7 separate regions of the Homo sapiens genome follow, and all the other regions are linked to region 1. The links are contacts of gene promoters, found by promoter capture Hi-C in blood cells and fetal thymus (Javierre and others, 2016). All regions are on one chromosome and are shown on one strand. Each heading gives the region's core, a stretch centred on a gene start or on the middle of the fragment in contact. The rest is flanking DNA. Distances are from core to core; before and after follow the strand shown.

Region 1 (3,726 bases), core at 563-3,062:
CTTAAAAAGGAAATTAAATGAAGTCTGTAGCAACTATTTTCTGAAAATATTTTCCCTTCTTTCACATGATCTTACGTGCTGTCCAAATTATCCCAAATATATATACTCATATGCCAAAATCATTGTATAATTATTTCAAGTCTGTCACAGACTCAAAAACAGAGGTCAACTTCCTAAATTACTGTGAAGTAATGAGATTTTTGAGACTTTTTAAAGGAATAGCACATGTAACTTCACAAAATTTTCCTATTATTGTCGTCCTTAAATCATCTATTTGAGAGGGGAAAAAATCATTCAAAATGTTTCTGAAAAACCACATCACCAAGTTATTAACGAATCCGAAACAAAATATCTAAAATAAAAAGGTGCTGTCAATTCTGAGTAACTACATCCACCACAAGCTGACATAGTGGTTTTAAAGCTAAGGTAAGGGCAAATCACTTTTCTTTGATTTGAAATTTTAAAAGTACTAAATACTTAAAAAAAAATAGCTCATGTATCTCAAAAACAAAAATCTGTCTGTACTCCTCTCAAACCAAATAAAGAGTAACAGAAATGCCAAAGATAAACTACCTACCTTACTGGAAACCTCTCGAATAAAAATGCAAGATTTACAAAACTTAATTTCTTTTTTCGTAACATGGAATTAACTGGGTTATGCACATTCAAATGGTCAGAAGAAAAGATTTAAGGCTCATTTAAGATCAGCAATCTAAAACCACTGCAGCCTGGCCTCCCACAGGAATTGGAGAAACTACCTTGCTTTTACTATTTTTACACCGTCTCGCTTCACTGTTCCCAAAGTCAGTGCGAAGAAGGCTGGGTATCTGCTACCCCTAATTACTTTTATGGGTAAACTGAGGCTCAGCGACTGCAAGGGACTGGCCCAAGGTCACTCAGAACCAGAGCTGCAACTCCAGGCTTCTGTTCCCTCTCCTAGTATTCCTTTTTACAAACTCGGCCTTCATGGTCGAGGATGCCTGGACAGAGCATCCAAGAAGTGTGGGCGCAGTGACCTGCAGAGGGCTCGGAAAGCATGCCAAGAGCAGCCAGGGGACCCACACCAAGTTGGCCCTGAAACACGCCAGGCAGAAAAGAGGCAGGACAGGGAACACCGAATTTCCCCTGAAACACTCTGAATGCCTGATCTGAGCTCCGGCCCCGTGGCAGAGGAGGTGGTTAAGAAAAGGCTGGGGGCAGCGCGGGAACGCGTCCCTTGCCCGAGCAGAAGGCCGGAGGCTGGGGAAGATTCGCAGCCGGTCGGACGGCAGGGGACTCCGTTCCAGGGCTCCGGGGCTGGGCGTCCAGAGAATACGGGGGCGGGGGACGGGGGCCTGCGTCGGGGATGCGGCCGTCTAAGGGCGTCCGAAGCGCGCACTTTACCTTCCTCCTCGTCCTGGAAGCTGAGCAGGCTGGCCCGGGGCACCTCTTTGTTCTCGCGAGGCCTCTTGCGCGGCTTCAGCCCGTTGCCGGGCTCCGCGCCGCCGGGGAAGCCGCCCCCGGCCTCAGCCCCGAGGCCCGGGGTCAGCGCGGAAGGCGGCGACGGCCCCGGGCCCAGCAGCGACTCCCCGCCAGGGGCCCTGTCGCCGCCACCGGGGCCCGCCTCTTCGCCCGTGCCCGGCGGCGGCAACAACGGCGGCGGCTCCTGCTCCTCATCGCGTTCCCGCTCTTCCTCTTCGGAGTCGTTCCGCTTGCGCACGTTCACCCGCCGGGCCTTTCGGAACATCCCCGCGGCCCGCACGGCGGTCGAATACTCGCTTCCACACCGCGGCCCCGGCAGCGCCGAGCTCGTGACGGCGCACGCGCGCTCTCCGGAGCTCCAGCCGGGTCGAGTCCTCTGTTGCTACCGCGCACCCCACGAGCGCGCATGCGCCTATGCTCCCACGCGCTCTCAATACTTGGAGAAAGAGAGAGAGTGAGAGAGAGAGAGAGAGAGAGAGAGAGAGAGAGAGAGAGAGAGAGAGAGAGAGAGAGAGAGAGAGAGAGAGAGAGAGAGAGAGAGAGAGCGAGAGAGAGAGAGAGAGAGAGAGCGAGAGAGAGAGAGAGAGCCCCACACCTCTCGCGAGAGCGTCGGCTCTTTGCATCGCTCTCTGTCGGAGTGGAGTACTATTAGCATGGAACTCTGGTGTTGTTTGACAGGTCACAAAGAGGATCATAGAGATGAGAAGAAAGAGTAGGCTCTGTTGTCCCTCAGACGGCGCTGCTGCAGTGCGTCTTCGCACTTACGCGGAGCGGTAATGTGAGGAAGCCTCCCGCCAAACAGATGAGGGAGGAGGAGGAGGGGAGAGGCCAGAGAGAGAAGCGGCTTTCGGGAAGGAAAGTGTGATCTAGTAGGTGGAATAGTCCTCTCCAAACTTTGACCTGAGGTGTGACTATTGGTAATTACTAGTTATTCTTGAGTAATACTTTGTATTTCTACAGCTTTATAGCTACAGAGCTCTTAGAAAGACATTGAATTTTATTTATGATACAATGTTACTTCAAAGACATTGAATTTCATTTATGGTACAATGTTACTTCAAAGACATTGAATTTCAGTTATGATACAATGTTACCTGGCTTGATGTCCCCCGTTCCCCAGTCTTTCAGGAACAAGGAAAGCAAAAGTGTTTCCGTGTTTTCTAAAGAATGCCAAGTTTGCAAGCAATTCTATGACTAAATACTTTCCAAAGCTTAGTGAGTTTCAGAAACAAGTGGAAGGAAAATAGAGCAGGGGGTGGGGAAGGTTGTGACAGTTCTCAGACTTGCGTGACAAAGCCCTCGCTGGCCACACCTTCACAGGGTGATTGCGCCTAAGGTTGAACTCACCGGCTTTCCCTATCTCATCACCGAACTAGAAGTTTTTCCTTCGGGCATGCACCTGTGCATGCGAATTCATTTTGATGTTTCGAAATTAAAAGGGTATTCGGTAGAGTGAAAAAAATCCACCCATGTCTGGAAGGCTGTTCACTTCCTCAGTGGCAATGTTAACAGTTTCTTATGATCCTCTAAAGATGTTCCATGAACATAAAAGCAAATAAATATGCATATTTTAATGTGTTCCCCTTTTTACACAGATGGTGTGTAAGCTGCATTTTTAGCCTACCGTAGATTGGAGATCGGCCCATATCTGTATATGAAGGGTTGTGTTTTTTTGGTTTTTTGTTTGTTTGTTTTGAGACTAAATTTCGCTCTTGTCGCCCAGGCTAGAGTGCAATGGCGCGATCTCCGCTCACTGCAATCTCCGCCTCCCAGGTTCAAGTGATTCTTCTGCCTCAGCCTCCCTAGTAGCTGGGATTACAGGCACGTGCCACCACGCCCAGCTAATTTATTTTGTATTTTTGTATTTCACTCTGTTGGCCAGGATGATCTCAATCTCTTGACTTCGTGATCCGCCCGCCTCAGTCTCCCAAAGTGCTGGGATTACAGGCGTGAGCCACCGCGCACGGCCGTCTATTTTTTTTTTTAACCCACCTGCGTAGTGATTCATTGTTGGGATATACCGTAATTTATTTAACCAGTTCCATAAACATTGATATTTAGATTATTTCTAGTCTTAATCAGTGCTGTAATGAAAAGCTTTGAAAAACTGTTACATCTGTAGGATGAAATAGAATTGAAATTGCTAGATCTCAATATATGCATTTATGATTTTGCTAATTCTAAATTTCTTTTTATAGAAGTTATGCAGTTTGCACTTATATCAGCAAACATTAGGATGCCTGTTTGCCCACACCATCCTGTAGA
Region 2 (3,538 bases), core at 745-3,244, 810 kb after region 1:
TAACACTCTTTCATAAATCATATTGTATTCCAGTTCACTTTTTGAAAAAGTACTGATTGGGCCCATTAAGTAGATTTCATGATCCACTAATGGGTTTACTCAGTTTGAAAATTTTGTTATTAAAGGGGTAATTGGTACTATAGAAGAATTTCTAGAAGAGTATATTCAGATAGTGACTATCTGGCCCAATATGTGTTTTATTTTAGAGATCAGAGAACACTATGTGGAAGGAACAGTTTAAATCAGGAGTCCCCAACCCCTGGACTGTGGACTGGTACTGGCCTGTGGCCTGTTAGAAACCGGGCTGCACAGCAGGAGGTGAGCGACTGTCGAGTGAACATTACTGCCTGAGCTCCATCTCCTGTCACATCAGTGGTCGCATTAGATTCTCACAGGGGCACGAATCCTACTGTGAACTGTGCATGTGAGGCATCTAGGTTGTGCCCTCCTTATAAGAATGATGATCTTGTCCGGGCGCGGTGGCTCACGCCTGTAAGCCCAGCACTTTGGGAGGCCGAGGCGGGCGGATCACGAGGTCAGGAGATCGAGATCGTCCTGGCTAACACGGTGAAACCCCGTCTCTACTAAAAATACAAAAAATTAGCCGGGCATGGTTGCAGGCACCTGTAGTCCCAGCTACTCGGGAGGCTGAGGCAGGAGAATGGCCTGAACCCAGGAGGCGGAGCTTGCAGTGAGCCGAGATTGCACCACTGCATTCTAGCCTGGGTGACAGAGCGAGTCTCCATCTCAAAAAAAAAAAAAAAAAAAAAAAAAGAATGATCATCTGATGTGTAACAGTTTCATCCCGAAACCATCCTCCTCACTGCCCATGAAACTGATCCCTAGTGCCAAAAAGTTTGCGGACTGCTGGATTAAATAATTGTGGGGGAGGGAAAAAAAGCCAGAAATAAAGAAATAATATATTTCTTAATGTTGCTAATCAACTGGTAAAAGGCATTTTAAATTTAAATAGCTTTTAGGCCAAAATAGGTTTACTATATAGTATAGTATTCTCACTTTAAACCTAAACTTTTACCTTCATTTCTCATAGCTTCTCTTAAACCTCGAGTTGTTGGAGATATGAGAGCTGTGATTAAGTCACTTCCAGCTAATCCTGCTGCTCGGAACAGGACAGTAAACTGATAGGTACAAACGTAGAAATAGGGGCAAAGTTTTGTCTTCAGCAAATTATATAGAGAAGTAAAGCTCACAGACCTATGAAGTAAAAAAATTTTCTTAAGGTATTATTAAACATTTAATGCAATGTTTATAATTCTGAATAATTCAGTTTGATACCTGGTTTAAAACACAACACAAATATTTTAGATAATGGTTTTAATTTTTGTGGTTACGTATGACTTAGCTTTAAAGGACTGAAATTGGTTATGAGGACTCGCTGATGACTTCTCAATACTTTAACAAATAGTGTATACCACTTAAACACTTATTTTTTCTTTAAACAAAACTTAATTGAGAATTGCCTGCTGACTTTCTCTGAGCTGCTGCTAAAAAAGGAAGCAGAGACTGACAAGAAGTAGCATTAAAGAATTAGGGCTGCGTGTTTATATATATATATATATATATATATATATATACTTTTTTTTTTTTTTTGAGACGGAGTTTCGCTCTGTCGCCCAGGCTGGAGTGCAGTGGCGCGATCTCGGCTCACTGCAAGCTCTGCCTCCCAGGTTCATGCCATTCTCCTGCCTCAGCCTCCCGAGTAGCTGTGACTATAGGCACCCGCCACCACACCAGGCTAATTTTTTTTGTATTTTTAGTAGAGACAGGGTTTCACCGTGTTAGCCAGGATGGTCTCAATCTCCTGACCTTGTGATCCGCCTGCCTCGGCCTCCCAAAGTGCTGGGATTACAGGCGTGAGCCACCACACCCGGCCTGCCTGTCTGTATATATTTAACCAACACTTATATACATTCTACCACAATTGGGTAAAGAATGAGTAACAGCTAAAAAAAAAAAAAGTAAACAGTTTATATGTTGGTTATTAATAGGTTCAGATAAAATTCACAAGGATCTAGATACCCTTCTGCCATTAACGTATCCAGTCACAAATATGATAGAGAATGCTGCTAAAATAAAATTCACTATTGAATTATACAAGTTTCTCTTACTAATCTTACCAGTCACTCATTAAAACATGCTGCAGGGTTGCATCATTTGACCAAGGACTTGTCTTTCCAGCCATTTTTCTATCAGCTCCAATACGAGGGAACAGTGGTAGCCAAGACAAAGCAGGGTGGAGCCAATAGATAAGGCTCTGCTGGAAGGTACAACGGAGCTCAGAGGAGAGTTTGGGATCCTAAAATCCAAAGGTGACAGTGGGCAGTTTTTGCCCATTGAGAAATAGAGAATTTTATTAAAGACAATCTTTACCAAACACTTAGGTCTAAGAATCTTTATTGCTTTCTATAGGAAAGCATTAATAATTGTTATAGGAACGAAAACATAGTTTATCCTTATTTGAGCCAGATGTAATGGTAAGCCGTAGTATCAGAACATTTAAACATAGATGGGAACATTTTCCTGTTTCTACCATCCTTAAGGACAATGACTACCTTTTTTATCATGAGGAATAGGGGTGGGCATGTGTGTGTAGGTAACACTACATCCAACCCTCTCTCCAAAAGGCTGTTTTAAAAGTAGCCAGTAAACACTGATACGGCAAATCACAAATCATCCTAATCTATTTATTGAAAAGATGTATAATATACCAAGACCTTTTTCAGGGTAATCCTTTTTAACCTAGTTTGAGACTTTAAAAAAATTTTTTTAAGATAGTCTCACTCTGTCACTGAGGCTAGAGTACAGTGGCACAATCAGAGCTCACTGCAGTCTTGACCTCCTGGGCTTAAACAATCCTCCTACCTGAGCCTCCCAAGTAGCTGGGACTACAGGCACCCACCACCATGCTCAGCTAATTTTTTTTTTTTTTTTTTTTTGTAGAGATGGGGTCTCACTACGTTACTCAGGCTGGTCTCAAGCAATCCCCCCACCTCAGCCCCCAAAATGCTGAGATTACAGGCATGGGCTATTGTGCCCAGCCTCCTAGTTTTGAGTTGATGCTTTAAAATAATCAAAATGTATATCTCTAAAACCATTCTAGAACTCACAAACTCCACAAAATTCATAAAATTTTTCTTATACAGGTAAGAAAATCTGTAAATCCATCAGCCCTTGCAATCCCACCCAATTGCTTTTCACTTCTTTCTTTGTATTTTCTTTCTCAAAAAGCCTTAGAGAAAAATAATTTAACAATTCTTGCCTGCAACACTGATTAATTTGCAAGACAAGTCTCTAAATGTATGAGCAGTTACTCAATCTGACTTAAAAAAAAAAAAGGTATGAAAGCACCATAAGCACCATCTGGGAAAGACAAAACTTCCTGTCTTTGTATCTTTAAATTTCCAAAGAAAAACTTAATGGAAGGCAGCATCTGCTATTTTGCAAAGGAGAGCATTTCACACTTAATTTGTTACTTTAACACATAACTATTTTATTTCAGAGTTACCTGTATACTTTT
Region 3 (3,726 bases), core at 672-3,171, 790 kb after region 1:
TAATTTCCTGCAGTTTAAGCATTTAAAAAAGAGTTGGAAAAAAAAATAGGTAGGGAGAGAGTCTGTATGACAAATATTTTCCACTGAAGACTTAACAAATATTGCAGAATTCCAAGGGATCTTCCTGAGAAGATAAGTGAGCATAACTGTTTTGAATTTCTTCGGTTCAATCATGGGGAAAGTGCTTAGTAACTCCTGATGCTTACACTTTTTTGAGAGAGAGAGAGTGTGTGTGTGCGTCTATTTATTTGAAATTTAGTACTCAGCCATTTTCAATCTTAACACTGAGTGTGGTGCCTTAGCCTTGTTTGTCATCAAAAGTTGTCAGATTTTAATTAAAGGTTGAGGAGAATTATTCTTAAATCTGGTGGGAAAAGTTGATAGAGAAAGGTACTCAAATAATGGTGACATTATTTTTTGTTAAAAAAATTTTTTTTCTTACCAAAGAAGAATCCTAGAAGGTAAAATTATTTTACAATTCTTTTCAAAGGGCTAAATGAATAAAGCAGATGATGTCTCTTGTGGGACGATATATGTAACTATTTGATATAAAACCTCTTTAAGCTGCTTAGAAGATTAGACTCAAAAGAACATACAGATTAATTCTAAAGAAGAGAATCCCAAAATACAAGGGCAAAGAGGCAGGATTGCCTTTTGCTTTCATATCTGCACTTTTACCTGGCAATAATGTTAAAATGTGTAGAGGAAATAGTCACAATTTAAAATGTTTAGTTCCAGTTATTTAGTGACCATCTAAATATACTATATTGTATATATAGAAGGTAAAAGTAATGAATTTATTATTTATACAATTAGTGTTATATATACCAATGTTGTGAAATACTTTTGGTAACACTTCGTGGGAGCATTAACCCTTTTGATTCCTTGTTAGAGTTTGAAATAAAGGCTTCTAGAGTAAAAGGAGATAGTTCTTTTAAATGGTCAACCTTTGAACTGAATAGTAATTTTTATCTATGCCTTTTTCATTTTAATAAATATAAATGGAGTTTGTGGTTCTTTGTTGTTGAGCATAAAACATTTAGGCAAAGATCACAGATTTTATCTCCATAAGAGGGCTGAATTAGCTTTGCTGTAATCCCTAATCCCACCAATTGTCTTGCATATGAATGCTCTTTGACATGAGTATGAATGGATAGACATTGTGGATGAAGCAGCATAAATTCATTTCTTATGGAAAAACAACTCATCAGACTGTGTGCGGTACTGCCATAGCATCGTCTTCATACTCAGAAACCAGCCAGCATCATCCTCAGTAAGGAGTGACTACAGAACTTTGACTGTATTTGTGTGAATTTGATTTATAAACAATGAAATAAAATGTTGGAAAACTAATATTTTAAAAATAGTCCTCAGGGGCATTAATTCTTGGTAATAAAGTTAGTAGAGGTTTATTGAGTAGAAGATTAGGATGTAATCTTTGACATAAGTGGAGTAGTAACTACTCAACTATTAGTGTGGAGTTTTCATGGATTTAGTATCAATCAAATGTTTTAGGGGTCCAGAGGTAGTATTGTTAAGGTCTAGTGAATGCTTAGATGTTAAGATCATCTTTATGTTAAGCAGTTTACTGGTTTGTATTTATCAAATCATATTTCCACATCCCAATGGAATTACAATTTTTTTAAATTTATAAGCTCTAAATGTATAGGAAAACTTGGAGAAAAATGAAAATTTTAATTGGAAATTAAACACATAGGTCCCGGCACTGCTAGAATGTGTAATATACAGCCTTGTTATTCTTTCCTTCCTAGATTCTCTTATGTGGTTAACGCTGAATTTCTCTGAACCATTTAGTAGGTTATCTATTTGTTTTCCCGTTGTACTTCATTTAGTCTATTATACACTAGAGAATTTTGTATGATACAATAAAAAGATTCGTAATTCACTTTTTAAAGCCAACCAAACACATAACTGGGACATTCTGTGGCTTTTATTTTTGTAGTTGTCATTTTGCTCTTGTATGCATTAACCTCTTTATATTTTAATATTTGCTAAATATTCTAAAATCATGTTTTATATACAGGCCAGATGCTTTTACCTTAGGTCTATTTTCTTATAATTAAAGTTTTCCTTTTATGCCTGCTTTTGAGATATCTGTGATTACCAATAATAGAAAATAATTTTCTGGTTATAGGTATTTTCCTTATCTGACTCACCCCATCCTAACAATTATCTTTAGCTCTTTTATATCCTTTCACTGATATTCTAAGAAGTCTCTTAAAATATTGTTCTTTTTATGTCAACAGTTGTGTTAACAAAAGGAGTAAATGGATTTAGAAGAATTTCCTAAATGAGAAATAAAAATGTAAAAGGCTCACTTAAATGTATTAATATAGGTCATGAAATGCATGTTATATGGTGCCAGTTGCATTATGGTAATTTCATTATGCCTCAGACACCTTTGTAGGTTTTATAAGAAGTAGTTGTCTGCTTTCTTGCTGAGGGAGAGAGAGTGAAGAATTTGGGCAGTTTTTATTTACCTGAGATTTGTAATTCAGGACACTTTTTATGTAAATTTCACCTTTTAGAGCAAAGGTGAAAAGTCAGTAAACATTTCCCCCATTATCATACCTAGAATATTACTACAGAATTATTTTTATACACTAGGTAACATGCTAGTCTTATAGTGTATTGGTAGAAACTAAGGCTTGTTGGTGACAGCTTGGTAATAGTATTCTACAGATTAAAGATTCTCTTTTTCCCAGTTTTTGGAGGGGCCTTTTACCATCATTTTGGTGCCTTTCTTATATTTCCAGTTTCTGAATATTAAACGACAGTTAAGATTCTAAAGCTCTATTGTCCAATACAGCAGTTACCAGCCCCTGAAAAATCAGGTTTTTAATCACACTAGTTACATTTCAAGTGCTCAGTAGTGATCACTGTAAGAAGTTGTACTGGGCAATGCTGCTCTAAAGGGTAGCTGTGGTATTATGAGTGTTTCAATACTGATAAGTAACATCGGGTTTGACCCTTAAACATTGCTGCTTTGGGGATTGTATTGGCTTTTTATGCCTCATTGTATAACTTGAGTTACCTTGAAAGGCTGGAAACAGGCTTTTTGATGTAAACTTTTGAGGATCTTTATGAGGTTAAGATAATCTTGATTCATTCTACTTTGAGTATATGTTTTCGCATTAAAAATAAAAATATGGCCAGGCACAGTGGCTCACGCCTGTAATCCCAGAAATTTGGGAGGCCAAGGCGGGCGGATCACCTGAGGTCAGGAGTTCAAGACCAGCCTGACCAACATGGAGAAACCGCGTCTCTCCTAAAAATACAAAATTAGCCGGGGGTGGCAGCGCATGCCTGTAATCCCAGCTACTCAGGAGGCTGAGGCAGGAGAATCACTTGAACCCAGGAGGCGAGAGGTTGCAGTGAGCCAAGACTGTGCCATTGCACTCCAGCTTGGGCAATAAGGGCGAAACTCCATCTCAAAAAAAAAAAAAAAAAAAATGAAACCAGTAGTCAAATTACTATTTGGTAATACATTTTTGACATGAACTTGCAGCTCCCTTGGTAAGTCTGTTGAAGAGTAAATGAAGTTTTACTACCTCAGGAAAAACATAGTTGTAATTTTATTTAAATATCAAGGTTGCTATAATAAAATTCCTTTCAGAATCATGAGTTTAATATGAAACACTAAGATTTGAAGAGTTTCATTCTGGGGATAAATGGTGAGGCATTTAGGTTAAACGTTTAATAAAG
Region 4 (3,726 bases), core at 416-2,915, 740 kb after region 1:
CCATAAAAAAGATGAGATCCTGTCATTTGCAACAACATGGATGGAACGGGAGGTCATTAAGTTAAGTGAAATAAGTCAGGCACAGAAAGACAAACCTCACATGTTCTCACTTATTTGTGGGAGCTAAAAATTAAAACAGTTGAACTCATGATGATAGTGCAATGATGGTTACCAGAGGCTAGGAAGGGTAGTGGGAGAGACGGGGAGAGGGGATGCTAATGGGTACAAAAATATAGTTAGAATGAACAAAATCTAGTGTTTGATAGCATAACAGGGTGACTATAGTCAACAATAATTTATTACACATTTTAAAATAACTGGAAGAGGCTGGATGTGGTGGCTCACACCTATAATCCCAGCACTTTGGGAGGCCAAGGCAGGCGGATCATACTGAGGTCAAGAGTTCAAGACCAGCCTGACCAGCCTGGCCAACATGATGAAACCCCATCTCTACTAAAAATACAAAAAATTAGCCAGGCATAGTGGCAGGTGCCTGTAATCCCAGCTACTCAGGAGGCTGAGACAGAAGAATCACTTGAAACTGGGAGGCGGAGTTTGCAGTGAGCCGAGTCTGCGCCACTGCACTCCAGCCTGGGCGACAGAGTGAGACTCTATCTCAAAAACAAAAACAAAAACAAAACAAAAAAAAACTGAAATAAAATAACTGGATTGTTTGTAACACAAAGAATAAATGCTTGAGGTGATGAATACCCCATTTACAGGGATGTGATTATTACAGGTTGTATGGCTGTATCAAAAGATCTCATGTACCCTATAAATATATATACCTACCATGTACCCATACAAATTAAAAATTAAAAAAACTCCCTTCCTCTTGGGATAATGGATTAATAGATTGTGAAAAGCACAGATATTCCTGGATAGCCTCCAGTTCCATCCATATTGCTGCAAACGACGTGGTTTAGGATATGTAATTGCTCCTAGGATATGTAATTGCTCCCACAAATTCTGTATCTTGTGATCTAGCATTGTAGTAGAAACAGTATAACATTATGTTAAAACTGACTGATGAGAAATAAGCTGCTTAATTAAGCAAGAAAAACTGACCCTCTCAAGAACAAACCACTATGCTATGACTCTTACAATAGTTTCTTTAAAAAAAAAAAATTTTAGATTCGGGGGTACACACGCTTGTTTATTACATGGGAATGTTGTATAATGGTGGGGACTGGGCTTCTAGTGTACCTATTACCTACATAGTGAACATTATACCTGATAGAAAAATTTTCAACCCTCACCTCTTCTCCCACACTTCCCTGTTTTGTATCTATTGTTTCCATCTTTTTTTTTTTTTTTTTTTTTGAGATGGAGTCTTGCTCTGTCTCCAGGCTGGAGTACAGTGGTGCAATCTCAGCTCATTGCAACCTCTGTCTCCAGGGTTCAAGCAATTCTCCTGTCTCAGCCTCCAGAGTAGCTGGACTACAGACGTGTGCCACCATGCCCAGCTAATTTTTGTATTTTTAGTGGAGACAGGGTTTCACCATGTTGGCCAGGATGGTCTCGATCTCTTGACCTTGTGATCCGCCCGCCTCAGCCTCCCAAAGTGCTAGGATTACAGGCGTGAGCCACAGCACCCGGCCCTATTGTTTCCATCTTTATGTCCACATGTACCCACTGTTTAGCTCCCACTCATAAGTGAGAACATGCAATATCTGGTTTTCTGTTTCTGAGGCAGTTCACTCAGGATAATGGCCTCCAGTTCCATCCATATTGCTGCAAATGATGTGGTTTTATTCTTTTTTATGGCTGCATCTTACAATAGCTTCTTTGCTTTATTATCAACTTGGGCCTAAAGTACATTAAAACCTTAAGATCGACCTGTAAAGCAATTAAACTTCTGGGAATGAATCCTGAAGAAGTATCAGAGCTGGTTGTGGTGCTGCATGCCTGCAGTCCCAGCTACTCGGGGGGCTAATAAGGCGGAAGGATTGCTTGAGGCCAGAGCTGGAAGCTGCAGTGTACTATGACTGCATCTGTGAATAGCTACTGTACTCTAGCCTGGGCAACATAGCAAGACTGTCTCAAAAAGAATCACTATGATCTTGGCCATCAAATAAAAAAAAATCACATATGCATTTAAGAACATACTGAATATTTGCAAGAATGTTCATAGCAGTGTTACTTACAATAGAGGGAAAAAAATCAGGCTACATCCATCTGAGAGAATACAATACTCTTATTACTTTACCCCTCTATCCATAAAGGTTAAACATAAACTTCTTCTAATTAATAAGATAACAATAAAAATTCCTCAACTGTTTTCAGACTTTTCAACAACAAAGCTATGATACAAAATGAGCTGTAGCTTCTATCTTTTCTGGTTTCTCTTTAACCAGCTTTCTGACATCCTTTACTTTTTTCTTTGGGAGCTGTCTCAAATTCCTAAGAAAAGTGGAAAGACTAAGAATGCTGAAAAGACAAAGACAACCCTCATGATTCCCCCCAGTCCCTAGACTCTGCCGAGAGTAACCTTACAATCTCACAAGAGTGCGGGGAGGAAAGGAAGGGCAGTCAACAGCTCTACAGTGAAGGGGAAGCCACATCTCACCTGTTCCAGATATTAAGACAGCCACTCTGGCCTTTTTTTTTTCAAAAGAGAAATGATTTGTCAGGGAGCCATTCTTCAACACTGACCCATTTATTTGCATGCTTTCAATCAGATTCTTGACTTTCACACGTGGGGAACCTTCATTTCAAACATATCCATAAATAAGTAAAGAACAATTGTGAATTAACAAGAATAATGGAAAGAAAAATATTTTATGAAAACTTTAGGGTATGTTTTATCCTGAAAATAAGATAATGCAAGGACTAAAATGAACAACACATTTGTATCACTTAACACTACTCTTTCATAAAAACTTCCAAAAGGTGAACATATGTAATTACTTCAACTAAAAGCTGCAGATCACATCACTATCTTGAAGTGCACGGTGGATATATATGACTGCCTGCCAGTATTCTGCCCCTACTCCCCAAATCTTCCTAGCGAGACCACCCACAGTAGTGCCATGATCTCCTGGTCTCGGGGATAAGCATGTGACCTAGCAAAGCCATTTAAAGGCTTGATATGCGATGTTAAGAAAAAGAGGGTCTCTCTTTTTTTTCTTTTTGAGATGGAGTCTCGCTCTGTTGCCCAGGCTGGAGTGCAGTGGCGCGATCTCGGCTCACTGCAAGTTCCGCCTCCTAGGTTCACGCCATTCTCCTGCCTCAGCCTCCCGAGTAGCTGGGACTACAGGCGCCCGCCACCACGCCCGGCTAATGTTTTGTATTTATTAGTAGAGACGGGGTTTCACTGAGTTAGCCAGGATGGTCTTGATCTCCTGACCTCGTGATCCACCCGCTTCGGCCTCCCAAAGTGCTGGGATTACAGGCGTGAGCCACCACGCCCGGCTGGGTCTCTCTTTCTTATTGTAATGTGAGCTGAAGGATGTTATCTTTCCGGCATTTGGAGAACCCGCTTGAAAATGAATCCTACACAATAGAGGAAAGAAAGGCAGATACAGGTAAAGTCAACAAGGTCTGACATTTTTTTTTTCTATTTTTTATTTTTGTGAATCTTCTCTGTATCGTTCCAATTTTAGTATGTGTCCTGCCAAAGCAAGCATGTGACGTCTTTGTTAGTGAATCTGAGTGGATTTTCTGCCCCTCTGCCAAGTTCTAGCACTTCTCGCAGAGTCCTGACTGATACAGTACTTGTCAGGG
Region 5 (3,726 bases), core at 875-3,374, 680 kb after region 1:
ATTTAATGTACAATCTACTCCATTTGGCAATGTGTACTGAGAGATAAAAAACCTATCTACAAACAGAATATAACAAAAGGAAAATGTGACTTAAGAAGTGATCTCAGGTCCATAGCTCTTCGGTTCTTCCAAATTTGTAGATCAGAGTGCTAGAAAGATAGGAAAACAAATCATGAGGAAAAAACCGATGGAACAAGCAACACAGAATTCATTTTCTCAATATGCTTTGACAGGTACTTCACTGATTCCTATCAATTTTAAAAATTAAATTAGACATCATGGCAGTGTTGGTCTTAATTTGCTTATTTTGTAAAGCAGTCTGTTAACTACGATGGCTAAGCATAACTGTATTCTTTCTTAAGGCCTGGGAAGTTATTAACAGGCAACTTGTAAGGAAAAGAGACATTTCTCTATGACTCAGAAACAAAAAAATGAATCAATAAATCAAAAGAAAAAGGGAGAGAGACCATTCTCATAGTGACAGGCATTAGGGCCATTTTATGTCTCCAGGAGCCTACCATATCTAAATTACAGTAACTGAAGCACCCTACAACAGACCATGCTGCAATTCTTCATTCCTTCAACAAATAATTATTGTGCACTGAAAAGTGGCTACGTACCAAGCACCTAAGTGCTGGGGTGAGACTGAGTCCAGACAAACTTGCTCCCTAATGGAGCTAAGGGTCTAATAAGGAGACAATCAAATAAATATAAAATTCCACCTATAAAAAAATGCTATAAATGAGAGGTGCACAGTATCCTCAGAGTGAAACATAAGGATCAGACCTAGTTAGAGAGGTCAGGAAAGGTTTTCCTGAGGAGTGGTGACTGAATTGAGATCCAAAAGAAGAGGGGGAATTATCTCGGCAAAGTGAGAGAGGATAAGGAGGCGGGAGCAGAGAGATGGGACACTCCAGGGCCATGAGTTGAGCTGTGGGCATACTAAATGTTTTGGATTTGAAATGTCAGCAACCCAAGAAGGGATGTGAAGTAGGAATCTGGATATACGGTTTAGGCCTGGAAAGGGACATCTGTGACTCACTGGCATATAAGCAATAATTGGAGTCCTAAGTACACATGAGTTCACCCAGGGACAGAAAAATAACAAGGAGTTTCTTAAGGCCAAGAACAGCTTTAAGAGACTTCAAAAGGTAGTAGGCAGGGAGTGGAGGATCAGCTTGCAAGGAAAACAGAGGAGTGACCAGAGATGTAAATAAAAGAGGTTGTACCCCAGAGCTTAGAACAGGTCCAGCACACAGGAAGCATACAGGCTGCCTGATAACTTGCCAGCCTCTGGGCAGAGCACATAGATGACACAGCTGTCAACTATGTCCACCTGAGCATACAAGGTTTCTGTTCATCCAATTGTCATTTAAGTGGATTCATCTACCACCACAAAGTGTTGAATCTGAACTTAATCTCTAAAGACTGCCTAAAATGTCTTCATAACAACTTACCATATCCCCAGAAGGCTGTCAGTCACATGTCTTTGACATATAAGACAGCAGAAACTGCCAAACATCTTTCAAAACCAGGAGTGTCAAGGCCACAAGGCGAAATCCAGGTAGAGCATGGTGGTCTGAGAGTGGAGGGAGACCACATGGCTAGAGTTTGCCATGCAGCGTACAGACAGCCACACAGAGGGAACGCAGGAGATCTGCAGGGGGTGCTCCTTCAGTCTGTGGCTGAGTACTGAAGAGTCTATACATAAGAGGAAACTACCCAAGGGAAGGAAAGAACCACTGGAAAGAACATGTCCCAGAGCTACCACAAGGCTGGAAGAGAGTTCATACTCTCACAAGTCGAGTAGAGAAACCTCGGAATACATGAAGCATCAGAGAGTGGAAACACTCAAAGGGTATGACTGCCTTAGTAGGGGGACAAATCAGTCCTGGGCTACAGCTGCTCTGGTCCTGCCTATAACAAAGCTTAAGAGACATAAAAGGATCAAATTGTTTCTGATTGTTTCTGAGTCACCTAACTGCATCCCAAAACAAAGCTTAAAAACATTTAAAGGACTAGCAAAGATCCAGTCCCAACAAATTGTATGCAAAGCACCAAATAAGGGAAAATAGGTCCAAAATGAAGAGTAAACAGAAGCAGAAAAAATCAGTAGAAGCAGATGCAGAAATGACACAGACAATTGGACAAGGACCCTGAGATAGCTATAAATATACTCTGTGTGTTCAAGGTGGAAGAGGGCATGAGCATGTTAAGGGAAGACATCAGAAATATTTTTAAAGACCCAATCAAGCTTCTAGAGAGAGAAAATACAATGTCTGAGATGAAAAAATCATTGGATGGCATAGATTAGACATTGCAGAAGTAGAGATTAATTTATTTAATTCTTCAAAGTGACAATAGAGAGATTAATTTTATTTATTTATGTATTTATTTATTTTGAGATGAAGTCTCGCTCTGTTGCTCAGCAATGGTGTGATCTCAGCTCACTGCAACCTCAGCCTCCCGGGTTCAAGTGATTCTCTGGCCTCAGCCTTCCGAGTAGCTGGGATTCCAGGCATGCACCACCATGCCCAGCTAATGTCTGTATTTTTAGTAGAGATGAGGTTTCACCATGTTGGCCAGGCTGGTCTCGAACTCCTGACCTCAAGTGATCCACCCGCCTTGGCCTCCCAAAGTGTTGAGATTACAGGTGTGAGCCACCATGCCCAGCCGAGATTAATTTTAAAATGTAACAATAGAAACTATCCAAACTGAAACACAAACAGGAAAAAAAAATCTGACCATTAGCAAGCTGTGAGACAACTTCGAGCAGCCTATTATAACCTGTAATTGAAATCCCAGAGGGAGGGTGCAGTGGATACAAAAAATGCTTGAAGAAATAATGGCTGAGAAGAATCTAGATTTATTGATGAACTATAAACCTATAGATCCAAGAAACTCAATATACACCAAGCAGAAGGAATATCAAGAAAACTAGACCACAGTACATCGTAATCAAATTACTTAAAACCAGTGACAAAAGCAAAGTTTTTCAAGGCTTAGAAGTTACTTAATGATTTATGGGGGATGGGGACAGAGGCAGATAAAATTTTATAAATATATACCTAAATATCCTATGTTGACATTAAAAGACATTCATTCTAGGCTGGGCATGGTGGCTCACACCTGTAATCCTACCACTTTGGGAGGCTGAGGTGGGCAGATCACTTGAGGTCAGGAGTTCGAGACCGGCCTGGTCAACATGGCAAAACCCCATCTCTACTAAAAATACAAAAATTAGCTGGGTGTGGCAGTGCATGCCTGTAATCCCAGCTACTTGGGAGGCTGAGGCACGGAATTGCTTGAGCCTGGGAGGCAGAGGTTGCATTGAGCTGAGATTGCACCACTGCACATCAGCCTGGGCAACAGAGCGAGAATCCAGCTCAAAAAAAAAAAAAAAAAAGACATTCATTCTAAAAAGCATAGAATGGACTTCATTTTGGGGATATTTTAGAAGACTGCCCCTAAAAAATACTTTTAATATTGGTTTATTTTTCCACTTACTTTAACTTTTCTTAAAAGGGCATTCAGAAAACAGAATTTCCCAACAGGTTTTGTATATAATATGCATACTATGTATTAATTATTATTATTATTTTGATATGGAGTCTTGCTCTGTCACCCAAGCTGAAATGCAGTGGCACTATCTCGACTCACTCCAACCCCCGTGTCTCCTGGGTTCAAGTGGTTCTCCTGCCTCAGCCTTCCGAGTAGCTGGGATTA
Region 6 (3,726 bases), core at 626-3,125, 660 kb after region 1:
TTAAAAAGCATTTGCAGCCGGGCGCAGTGACCCACACCTGTAATCCCAGGACTTGGGGAGGCCAGGGTGGGCAGATCACCTGAGGTCAGGAGTTCGAGACCAGCCTGGCCAACATGGTGAAACCCTGTCTCTACCAAAAATACAAAAATTAGCCGGGCGTGGTGGTGGGCGCCTGTAATCCCAGCTACATGAGAGGCTGAGGCAGGAGAATTGCTTGAACCCAGGAGGTGGAAGTTACAGTAAGCCAATATCGCACCATAGCACTTTAGCTTGGGTGGCAGAGCAAGACTCCATCTCAAAAAAATAAAATAAATAAAAAGCATTTGCTTCTGGAGGCTTCACATTATTCTTGGGTAAACCTAGAGTAAAGGTGTTGGAAGCAGAATGTTACTCAGTTACATGTGGGATGAACAGAGGTTAGATAAGGTCCAAGTCTGCAGAAACATAGCAGCACTTTCAGAAAGAACCCTAGTCACTTGTTCCTTCATCTGCCATGATGTATTGTAGGTACACAGGCAGTATACAGATTCCCTACTAGAACCTCCCTGGTTAATATTGTCACAAAATCACAGCTCCTAACAGGTCTCAGAATCTTACTTGCAGTAATAATCTCTCTCTCTCCTGGTAGAACTACCAGCTGAGCCCCAGTACATGAATATACTATGAGTCATTCCTCTGAGACATGAACAGAAAACACAGGCCTGTCAGTTCACTTTTCTAGGAAAGCATAAAGAACATCCGCCAAAGGTCTCTGAGTTACATGGGAACAGTGAATCATGTTTCACTTATAATTCTGGGGTTTCACAAGGGTACATGTTTTGGTTTTGTTCCTCTTTCAGTCAGTCAGCTACAAGCTTATTGTCTTCCAGTATCTTTCAGCATTTCCAAGAGCTAGACACTAGATTCTTGGTAACTTGGTGAATCTATGGCTAAGCCTAAAGCCTGCGGGAGCAAAAGGGAAATTAATCGCTGGGAAACACCCCTTTATATGTTAAGGCCTAAGGCCCTCGCTCCCAGATTCTCTGCTTGCTGTGCGCTGGTGCAAGGGGAGGGGTGGAGGAGTGCCTGAGACCAATGCTTGTGAACTTGCCCTCTTTTTCCCCATCACAGCTGAACAAGAGCCCCCAGTCCCTCCTTCACTGAAAGGTTACAATTTTAGAGACGTCTTAAGATTAATAACCCACAGGCCTACACTGAGGGTTGCAAGGAAGAACTTGCTTTTCTTCCAATCAGAAAATCAGAAGAAAAAAACAAAACTTGCTTTTCCTGAGTTTTGCCCTTTTAAACTCTCAGCATATTAACATGGTCAGCCCTGGGATGAGTATTAAAGTGATTACTGAGATGAGGGGTAAGGAGTATTCAACTATTAGAAGTTGTTGGCTGGGTGAGGTGGCTCATGCCTGTAATCCCAGCACTTTGAGAGGCCGAGGTGGGTGGATCATGAAGTCAGGAGATCGAGACCATCCTGGCCAACAGGGTGAAACCCTGTCTCTACTAAAAATACAAAAATTACCCAGGCATGGTGGCATGCGCCTGTAGTCCCAGCTACTTGGGAGGCTGAGGCAGGAGAATCACTTGAACCCAGGAGGCGGAGGCTGCAGTGAGCTGAGATCCACGCCACTGCACTCCAGCCTGGCAACAGAGCAAGACTCCGTCTCAAAAAAAAAAAAAAAAAAAAAAAAATTAGCCAGCCGTGGTGGTGCACGCCTGCAATCCTAGCTACTTGGTTGGGAAGCTGAGGCAGGAGAATTGCTTGAACCCAGGAGGCGGAAGTTGCAGTGAGCCGAGATCGCGCCACTGCACTCCAGCCTGGGCGAAAAAGAGACTGACTCAACAACAATAAAAAATTGTTGCCGGGTGCAGTGGCTCACACCTGCAATCCCAGCACTTTGGGAGGCCGAGGCGGGCGGATCACCTGAGGTCAGGAGTTCGAGACAGCCTGACCAACATGGGAAACCCCGTCTCTACTTAAAATACAAAATTAGCAGGGTGTGGTGGTGCATGCCTGTAATCCCAGCTACTTGGGAGGCTGAGGCAGAGGTTGCAGTGAGATGAGATCGTGTCATTGCACTCCAGCCTGGGCAACAACGTGAAACTCCGTCTCAAAAAAAAAAAATTGTTTCATTGTTGAATAAAAAGAAAAATAAGTTATGTCATTGGTGGACAGAATCAACTTATATCTGAATAAAATAACTATACCAATTAAAACTAAAGTAGGCCAGGCGTAGTGGCTCACGCCTATAATCCCAGCACTTTGGGAGGCCAAGGTGGGTGGATCATTTGCGATCAGGAGTTTGAGACCAGCGTGGCCAACATAGTGAAACCCTGTCTCTACTAAAAATACAAAATTAGCCAGGCAAGGTGGTGGGCACCTGTAGTCCCAGCTACTTGGAGGATTGAGGCAGGAGAATCGCTTGAACCTGGGAAGCAGAGGTTGCAGTGAGCTGAGATCACACCACTATACTCCAGCCTAGGCAAGAGTAAGACTCCATCTCAAAAAAAAAATAAAAATAAAAATAAAATAAAAACAAAAACTAAAGTTAAAAGGTCTGGTATACTGAACTGGTAAACTAATTACAATTTTGCTTTCCAACCTCCTCAAGTATTTAAAAGACCCAACTCAGCCCATCTTAGAGGCCTTGGACAAGGACAGCTCACCAAAGGATGACGTCTGGGACTCTGTGTCCATTATCTCGTTTCCGGAAAAGGAGCAAGAAGATGTTCTCCAAACGCTTTGAACCAAAGCATGGGCCTAGCCCACTGGCTCCCTGGAAGAGATCAAGCCATCGGAGCTGCTAGAGTTCTGTCTGGACTTTCCAGAGACCAGTATTCCCTTTTGCTGCCTCTAAAAGGCCTGTCCCTGCAGACATGAGAGACAGCAGGTCTCATGGGGGTGACAAGCTTTTTTTTTTTTTCTTAAAGAATTTTCAAAATCAAATTCCAGAATGATTTTACGGAGATATCCCAGGAAAATTAAGGCTTCTCTTAAACACTAAAAAGGCATGTAATTGCTTGTTAGCAAAATGGATATGACACATCTCTGATACTTTTTTCATTATTGGTTGGGCTGAGCAGTCAGAAGACCTGGTCGTCGTCTTGACTTTGGCAAATGAGCCGGAGCCCCTTGGGCAGGTCACACAACCTGTCCCAGCGAGGGACACCGAGTGGCCCTTCATGTACATCCATGGTGTGCTGGCTTAAAATGTAATTAATCTTGTAAATATACTCCTAGTAATTTAAGATTTTGTTTTTAAACTGGAAATAAAAGATTGTATAGTGCATGTTTTTTAAAGTCTATGTGAAGTGTTTTCTTTATTGTAGCCTATTTTCTGCAGAGTTTCAGCTTTCTAAAATTACTCAATCTAAACTTGTTTTTTCTTAAATAACACCTGCTAGAGCTACTGAGGCCTCATGGGAACTCAGCAAACACTTCCTATGGATGTCACTTGATCCTCCAAAGGTTATAAAGAAGGCCAGGGCCTAGTGCAGTGGCCCACGCCTATAATCCCAGCACTTTGGGAGGCTGAGGTGGGTGGATCACTTGAGGCCAGGAGTTCTAGACCCACCTGGGCAACATGGTGAAACCCTGTCTCTATGAAAAATGCAAAAATTATCCAGGCATGATGACATGCACCTGTAGTCCCAGCTACTTGAGAGGCTAAAGTGGGAGGATGCTTTAGCCTGGGAGGCGGAGGTTACCATGAGCCGAAATGATGCCACTGCACT
Region 7 (3,726 bases), core at 326-2,825, 570 kb after region 1:
CTCTTCAGGTGTAGAAGTAAGCATTATTTTTACCTCTGTTTAATCGATGTGAGAGAAAAATTAGGCGAATTAATCCTAAAATTTGACTTTATACTTTTTTAAAGAACCAACTTATATTTGTGTTATAGGAAAGGATTGAAAATATTTATTCCAGACATAAAATTTATAAACTCTCACCAGAGACTACTTATTGTCTAAAAGTTAAAGCAGCACTACTTACGTCATGGAAAATTGGTGTCTATAGTCCAGTACATTGTATAAAGACCACAGGTAAGGAAGATGTTTTGTTTTAGATTCAATAAATATATAAACAGATTGTCAATTTTGGCATCTTCCCCATATTGCTGAAGTTTACATGATAGGTCAATATATGTTAAAAACATTGTAACATTTACATAAGCAAAATAAATGTTACTTGGGATTTTTGTCTCAAATAGTAATGAAAATTAATTCTACTTAAAAGTTCAGGCTGGGCGTAGTGGCCCACGCCTGTAATCCCAGCACTTTGAGAGGCTGAGGTAGCTGGATCACTTGAAGCCAGAAGTTCGAGAACAGCCTCGCCAACATGGGAAAACCCCGTGTCTACTAAAAATAATTAGCTGGGCGTGGTGGCTCACGCCTGTAGTGGTAGCTACTTGGGAGGCTGAGGCACAAGAATCCCTTGAACCTGGGAGGTGGAAGTTGCAGTGAGCCAAGATCGCGCCACTGCACTCCAGTCGGGAGCAAGGGGGACAAAGAGTAAGGCTCCGTCTTAGAAAAAAAAAAAAGTTCAAATATTTTGTAATGACAAAACTTTTCATTTGTTCAGAATCCACATGAAGCAGGAGGTAGCTGAACTATGAGTTCTGCAAGTGGGAAGAAAAGGTGGGGAAGTAGTTGCTAGTAGACAAGTTATTGTTCAAGAAAGCATACCTTTGTAAGTGGAATGTTAAAATATGAAAGTATCCTGATACATTTAGTAACATCTTTCCAATAATTAAGGTCAAGGGCAGGAGCTGGGATTTGTTTATTTTAATTGTAAATTTCATATGCTTTTTTTTTTAATCAAACATTACGGAAGGGTTTAAAGTGAAGTCTTCTTCTCCCTTCTTATCCCCAATTCCATTCACTAGAGATAAGCATTGCTTAGCAGTTTGTGTATATCCTTTCACAACTTTTTTCAGGATTTATGTAAGCATATACACAGACCCACAGTTTCTTGGGTTTTGTTTTTTAAAATTACAAAATAAAATCTTACTAGAAGTATTTTACAGCTTGCTTACTTAACCCAGTGTGTTGGGGATATTCTATATCACTCAATACAGATCTATTACGTTCTTCATTTGATCTTAGCCATCTATTGCATTCTTTCTTTTTTACTTATTTATTTATTTATTTATTTATTTATTTATTTATTTTTGAGACAGAGTCTCACTCTCTTGCCCAGAATGGAGTGCAGTGGCTCAATCTCGGCTCACCGCAACCTCTGCCTCCCAGCTTCAAGCGATTCTCCTGCCTCAGCCTCCCGAGTAGCTGGGATTACAGGCGTGTGCCATCATGCCTGGCTAATTTTTGTATTTTTAGTAGAAATGGGGTTTCACCATGTTGGCCAGGCGCGTCTCGAACTCCTGACCTCAGGTGATCCATCCACCTCAGCCTCCCAAAGTTCTGGGATTACAGGTGTGAGCCACTGCGCCCGGCCTGTAGTCTTTCAAATGGCTGCATAGTATTACATAGTGTGAATACAAACCATATTTAACTATTACCTTATAATGATAAAATGCGAGCCTTTATCTTCTTGCCAGTTATCTCACTTGAGTAAAAATGTGTGCTTTTTTTTATCTGTTCTTTGGCTTCTAGTTGAAAATGAACTACCTCCACCAGAAAATATAGAAGTCAGTGTCCAAAATCAGAACTATGTTCTTAAATGGGATTATACATATGCAAACATGACCTTTCAAGTTCAGTGGCTCCAGTAAGTTCCATTCCATAAATTTCCTTTTGCCCAGTTTGTTTTGATTATGCTTCTTTTCGCTCTGCATCAGTCACCAGGTCCTTGCACACAGAATGACCGACTGGGAGGTGGGTACGATATATTGGAAACGTGAGAAATCTCATTTCTAACCCCAGTTCTGCCAGTAACTAACTGGATGACATTGAGCTAATCGCTTAACCTCCATGGGCCTCAATTTCTTCACTTGTAAAATAGATGGATTCTAATATCTGGGGTTCTTACTGGCTTAAGAAAAAAAAGAAAGTGTAACTAGTTGCATGTGTTATTTCCCCAATCTGGAAGACTCGACAGTTGACCCTGATCTTTTTCTAAGAACTCACTTCTTCCATGAGTCCTTAAAATGATCTCAGTCCACTCACTTGTTCAATTCAAAAAATTAGCCTTCCTATTTTCTTTATTACTTTAGTGGTTTTGACAAAATTTTGTAGTAGATACTTCGGTGGGAAAGAAAGTTGGAAAGAACTATGTTCTATGTGGTTGAGCAGAGGCTAGCTAAACATGGATGAAGTCCAGGCGCTGCATAAATGAAAGAGAACTGGCCTGGTGCAGTGGCGCATGCCTATCGTCCCAGCTACTCAGTGGGCTGAGGCAGGAGGATTACTTGAGGCCAGGAATTGAGGCTGCAGTGTTGTATGATCACACCTGCTAGTAGCCGCTGCACTGCAGCCTGGGCAACATAGTGAGACCCCCATCTCTAAGCATTAAAATTTTTAAAAAGCTGATAAAAGAGAACTGCATGTAGTTTATATTGATTGGAAAATTGTAGGAGATGAATAGAGAAAAGAGAAGAGGAAAATTAAGTAGAAGGAAAAATGGGTTATGGGGAGAAAAGAGATGGAAAGAAAGATATACATTGGTGGCAGAGGAGTAGAGAGAGCAAAGGCAAGTATAGCTAAGACAGGAAAGGAAAAGTCAGAAGAAACTGGAAAGAAACAGAAAAAATGAGGGAGAAGGGAAGTGTAAGTACCGCTATGATCAATTTCTATCTTTTAGTGTTAATTTTGAACCAAGGGTGACTGGTAGAATGCAAATGCATTTATGTGCATATGTGCCCCACAATGCATATATAACCTCACAAACCAATCAGGAAACTGTTCAGTAGTCTTTTGTGTATACCTCACTTTCAGAAGTGAATAAATAATAGGGTCACCAAATAGATAATGAGAGGTATTTCTGATAGCTGATCTCTAAGCTTCTTTTGGGTACTTACCATATTGTACAAAGCACTGAAGAAATGGAAAGAGTCAGCAGAATCAAACGTGGTTCAAAAATTGAAAGCAGTTAGCCAACATTGCAAAGTGTTGTGTGGTTTAGGACTAAAGAGTGGTATACAAATTATAAGGGTTGCAGAAATTGAAAATGTAAAGGTGAATAGGGGCTAAAGAGACCAAAGAAGCCATAAGGAAAGAGATAAGGTATGAACAAGGCCTTGATTGTTAATTCAGATTTTTTTTAAGTAGACAACTATTAGATGTTAGTTTTCTGTGTCTGTAACTAATTACCACAGACTTAGCAACTTAAACAGCTGTTTATTGTCTCAAAGTTTCTGTGAGTCAGGAGTCCAAGCGTGGCTTAGCTGGCTCTTCTGCTAAGCAGTCAAGGAGTCAGTCATTCATACAAGACTTGGGGGCCGCTCCCAAGCTCACATGTTGTTGGCAGAATTTATTTCTAGAGCTCATGGTGGCTCACTTCTTAGAGGCCATCAGGAAGGGAGAGTCTGACCTCTAGATCCT

The links. Contacts are between HindIII fragments. The CHiCAGO score rates a contact against its expected background, and 5 or more counts as called.
Region 2: a contact is called between a fragment that was not itself captured here and the fragment with the promoter of PAXBP1 in region 1, in 3 of 17 cell types (monocytes, total CD4 T cells and total CD8 T cells). The highest score is 7.4, in monocytes.
Region 3: a fragment that was not itself captured here is called in contact with the fragment with the promoter of PAXBP1 in region 1 in 1 of 17 cell types (neutrophils); the score reaches 5.7 in neutrophils.
Region 4: a fragment that was not itself captured here is called in contact with the fragment with the promoter of PAXBP1 in region 1 in 1 of 17 cell types (total CD4 T cells); the score reaches 5.1 in total CD4 T cells.
Region 5: a fragment that was not itself captured here is called in contact with the fragment with the promoter of PAXBP1 in region 1 in 1 of 17 cell types (total CD8 T cells); the score reaches 5.0 in total CD8 T cells.
Region 6: a contact is called between a fragment that was not itself captured here and the fragment with the promoter of PAXBP1 in region 1, in 1 of 17 cell types (naive CD4 T cells). The highest score is 6.2, in naive CD4 T cells.
Region 7: a contact is called between a fragment that was not itself captured here and the fragment with the promoter of PAXBP1 in region 1, in 1 of 17 cell types (total CD4 T cells). The highest score is 7.1, in total CD4 T cells.

The regions. Positions count from the first base shown.
Region 1 is chr21:32,769,943-32,773,668 of GRCh38, forward strand. It overlaps PAXBP1 (PAX3 and PAX7 binding protein 1), which reads right to left and starts at 1,813. Exons shown (of 18, transcript NM_016631.4): 1 at 1,384-1,813. The coding sequence starts at 1,726. It overlaps EPCIP-AS1 (EPCIP antisense RNA 1), which reads left to right and starts at 2,158. Exons shown (of 4, transcript NR_024623.1): 1 at 2,158-2,366. RefSeq lists an enhancer at 1,480-2,469. The HindIII fragment of the contact is 7,946 bases long and covers 1-2,670 here.
Region 2 is chr21:33,582,452-33,585,989 of GRCh38, forward strand. DONSON (DNA replication fork stabilization factor DONSON) reads right to left here. Exons shown (of 10, transcript NM_017613.4): 3 at 3,527-3,538; 4 at 2,139-2,317; 5 at 1,037-1,215. Among named protein-coding and RNA genes, the nearest start is that of DONSON, 4.5 kb to the right of the region's middle. The HindIII fragment of the contact is 4,141 bases long and covers 1-3,538 here.
Region 3 is chr21:33,561,408-33,565,133 of GRCh38, forward strand. The region is part of intron 6 of SON (SON DNA and RNA binding protein); the gene reads left to right. Among named protein-coding and RNA genes, the nearest start is that of MIR6501, 13 kb to the left of the region's middle. The HindIII fragment of the contact is 9,715 bases long and covers 1-3,726 here.
Region 4 is chr21:33,507,214-33,510,939 of GRCh38, forward strand. GART (phosphoribosylglycinamide formyltransferase, phosphoribosylglycinamide synthetase, phosphoribosylaminoimidazole synthetase) reads right to left here. Exons shown (of 22, transcript NM_000819.5): 18 at 2,570-2,707. Among named protein-coding and RNA genes, the nearest start is that of DNAJC28, 17 kb to the left of the region's middle. The HindIII fragment of the contact is 4,585 bases long and covers 1-3,726 here.
Region 5 is chr21:33,450,715-33,454,440 of GRCh38, forward strand. TMEM50B (transmembrane protein 50B) reads right to left here. Exons shown (of 7, transcript NM_006134.7): 7 at 1-149. The coding sequence ends at 104. Among named protein-coding and RNA genes, the nearest start is that of TMEM50B, 27 kb to the right of the region's middle. The HindIII fragment of the contact is 255 bases long and covers 1,998-2,252 here.
Region 6 is chr21:33,434,225-33,437,950 of GRCh38, forward strand. IFNGR2 (interferon gamma receptor 2) reads left to right here. Exons shown (of 7, transcript NM_005534.4): 7 at 2,604-3,292. The coding sequence ends at 2,738. It also overlaps a transcript of TMEM50B not described here. Among named protein-coding and RNA genes, the nearest start is that of IFNGR2, 33 kb to the left of the region's middle. The HindIII fragment of the contact is 2,047 bases long and covers 853-2,899 here.
Region 7 is chr21:33,343,407-33,347,132 of GRCh38, forward strand. It overlaps IFNAR1 (interferon alpha and beta receptor subunit 1), which reads left to right. Exons shown (of 11, transcript NM_000629.3): 4 at 1-16; 5 at 129-270; 6 at 1,840-1,954. Among named protein-coding and RNA genes, the nearest start is that of IFNAR1, 20 kb to the left of the region's middle. The HindIII fragment of the contact is 3,215 bases long and covers 1-3,183 here.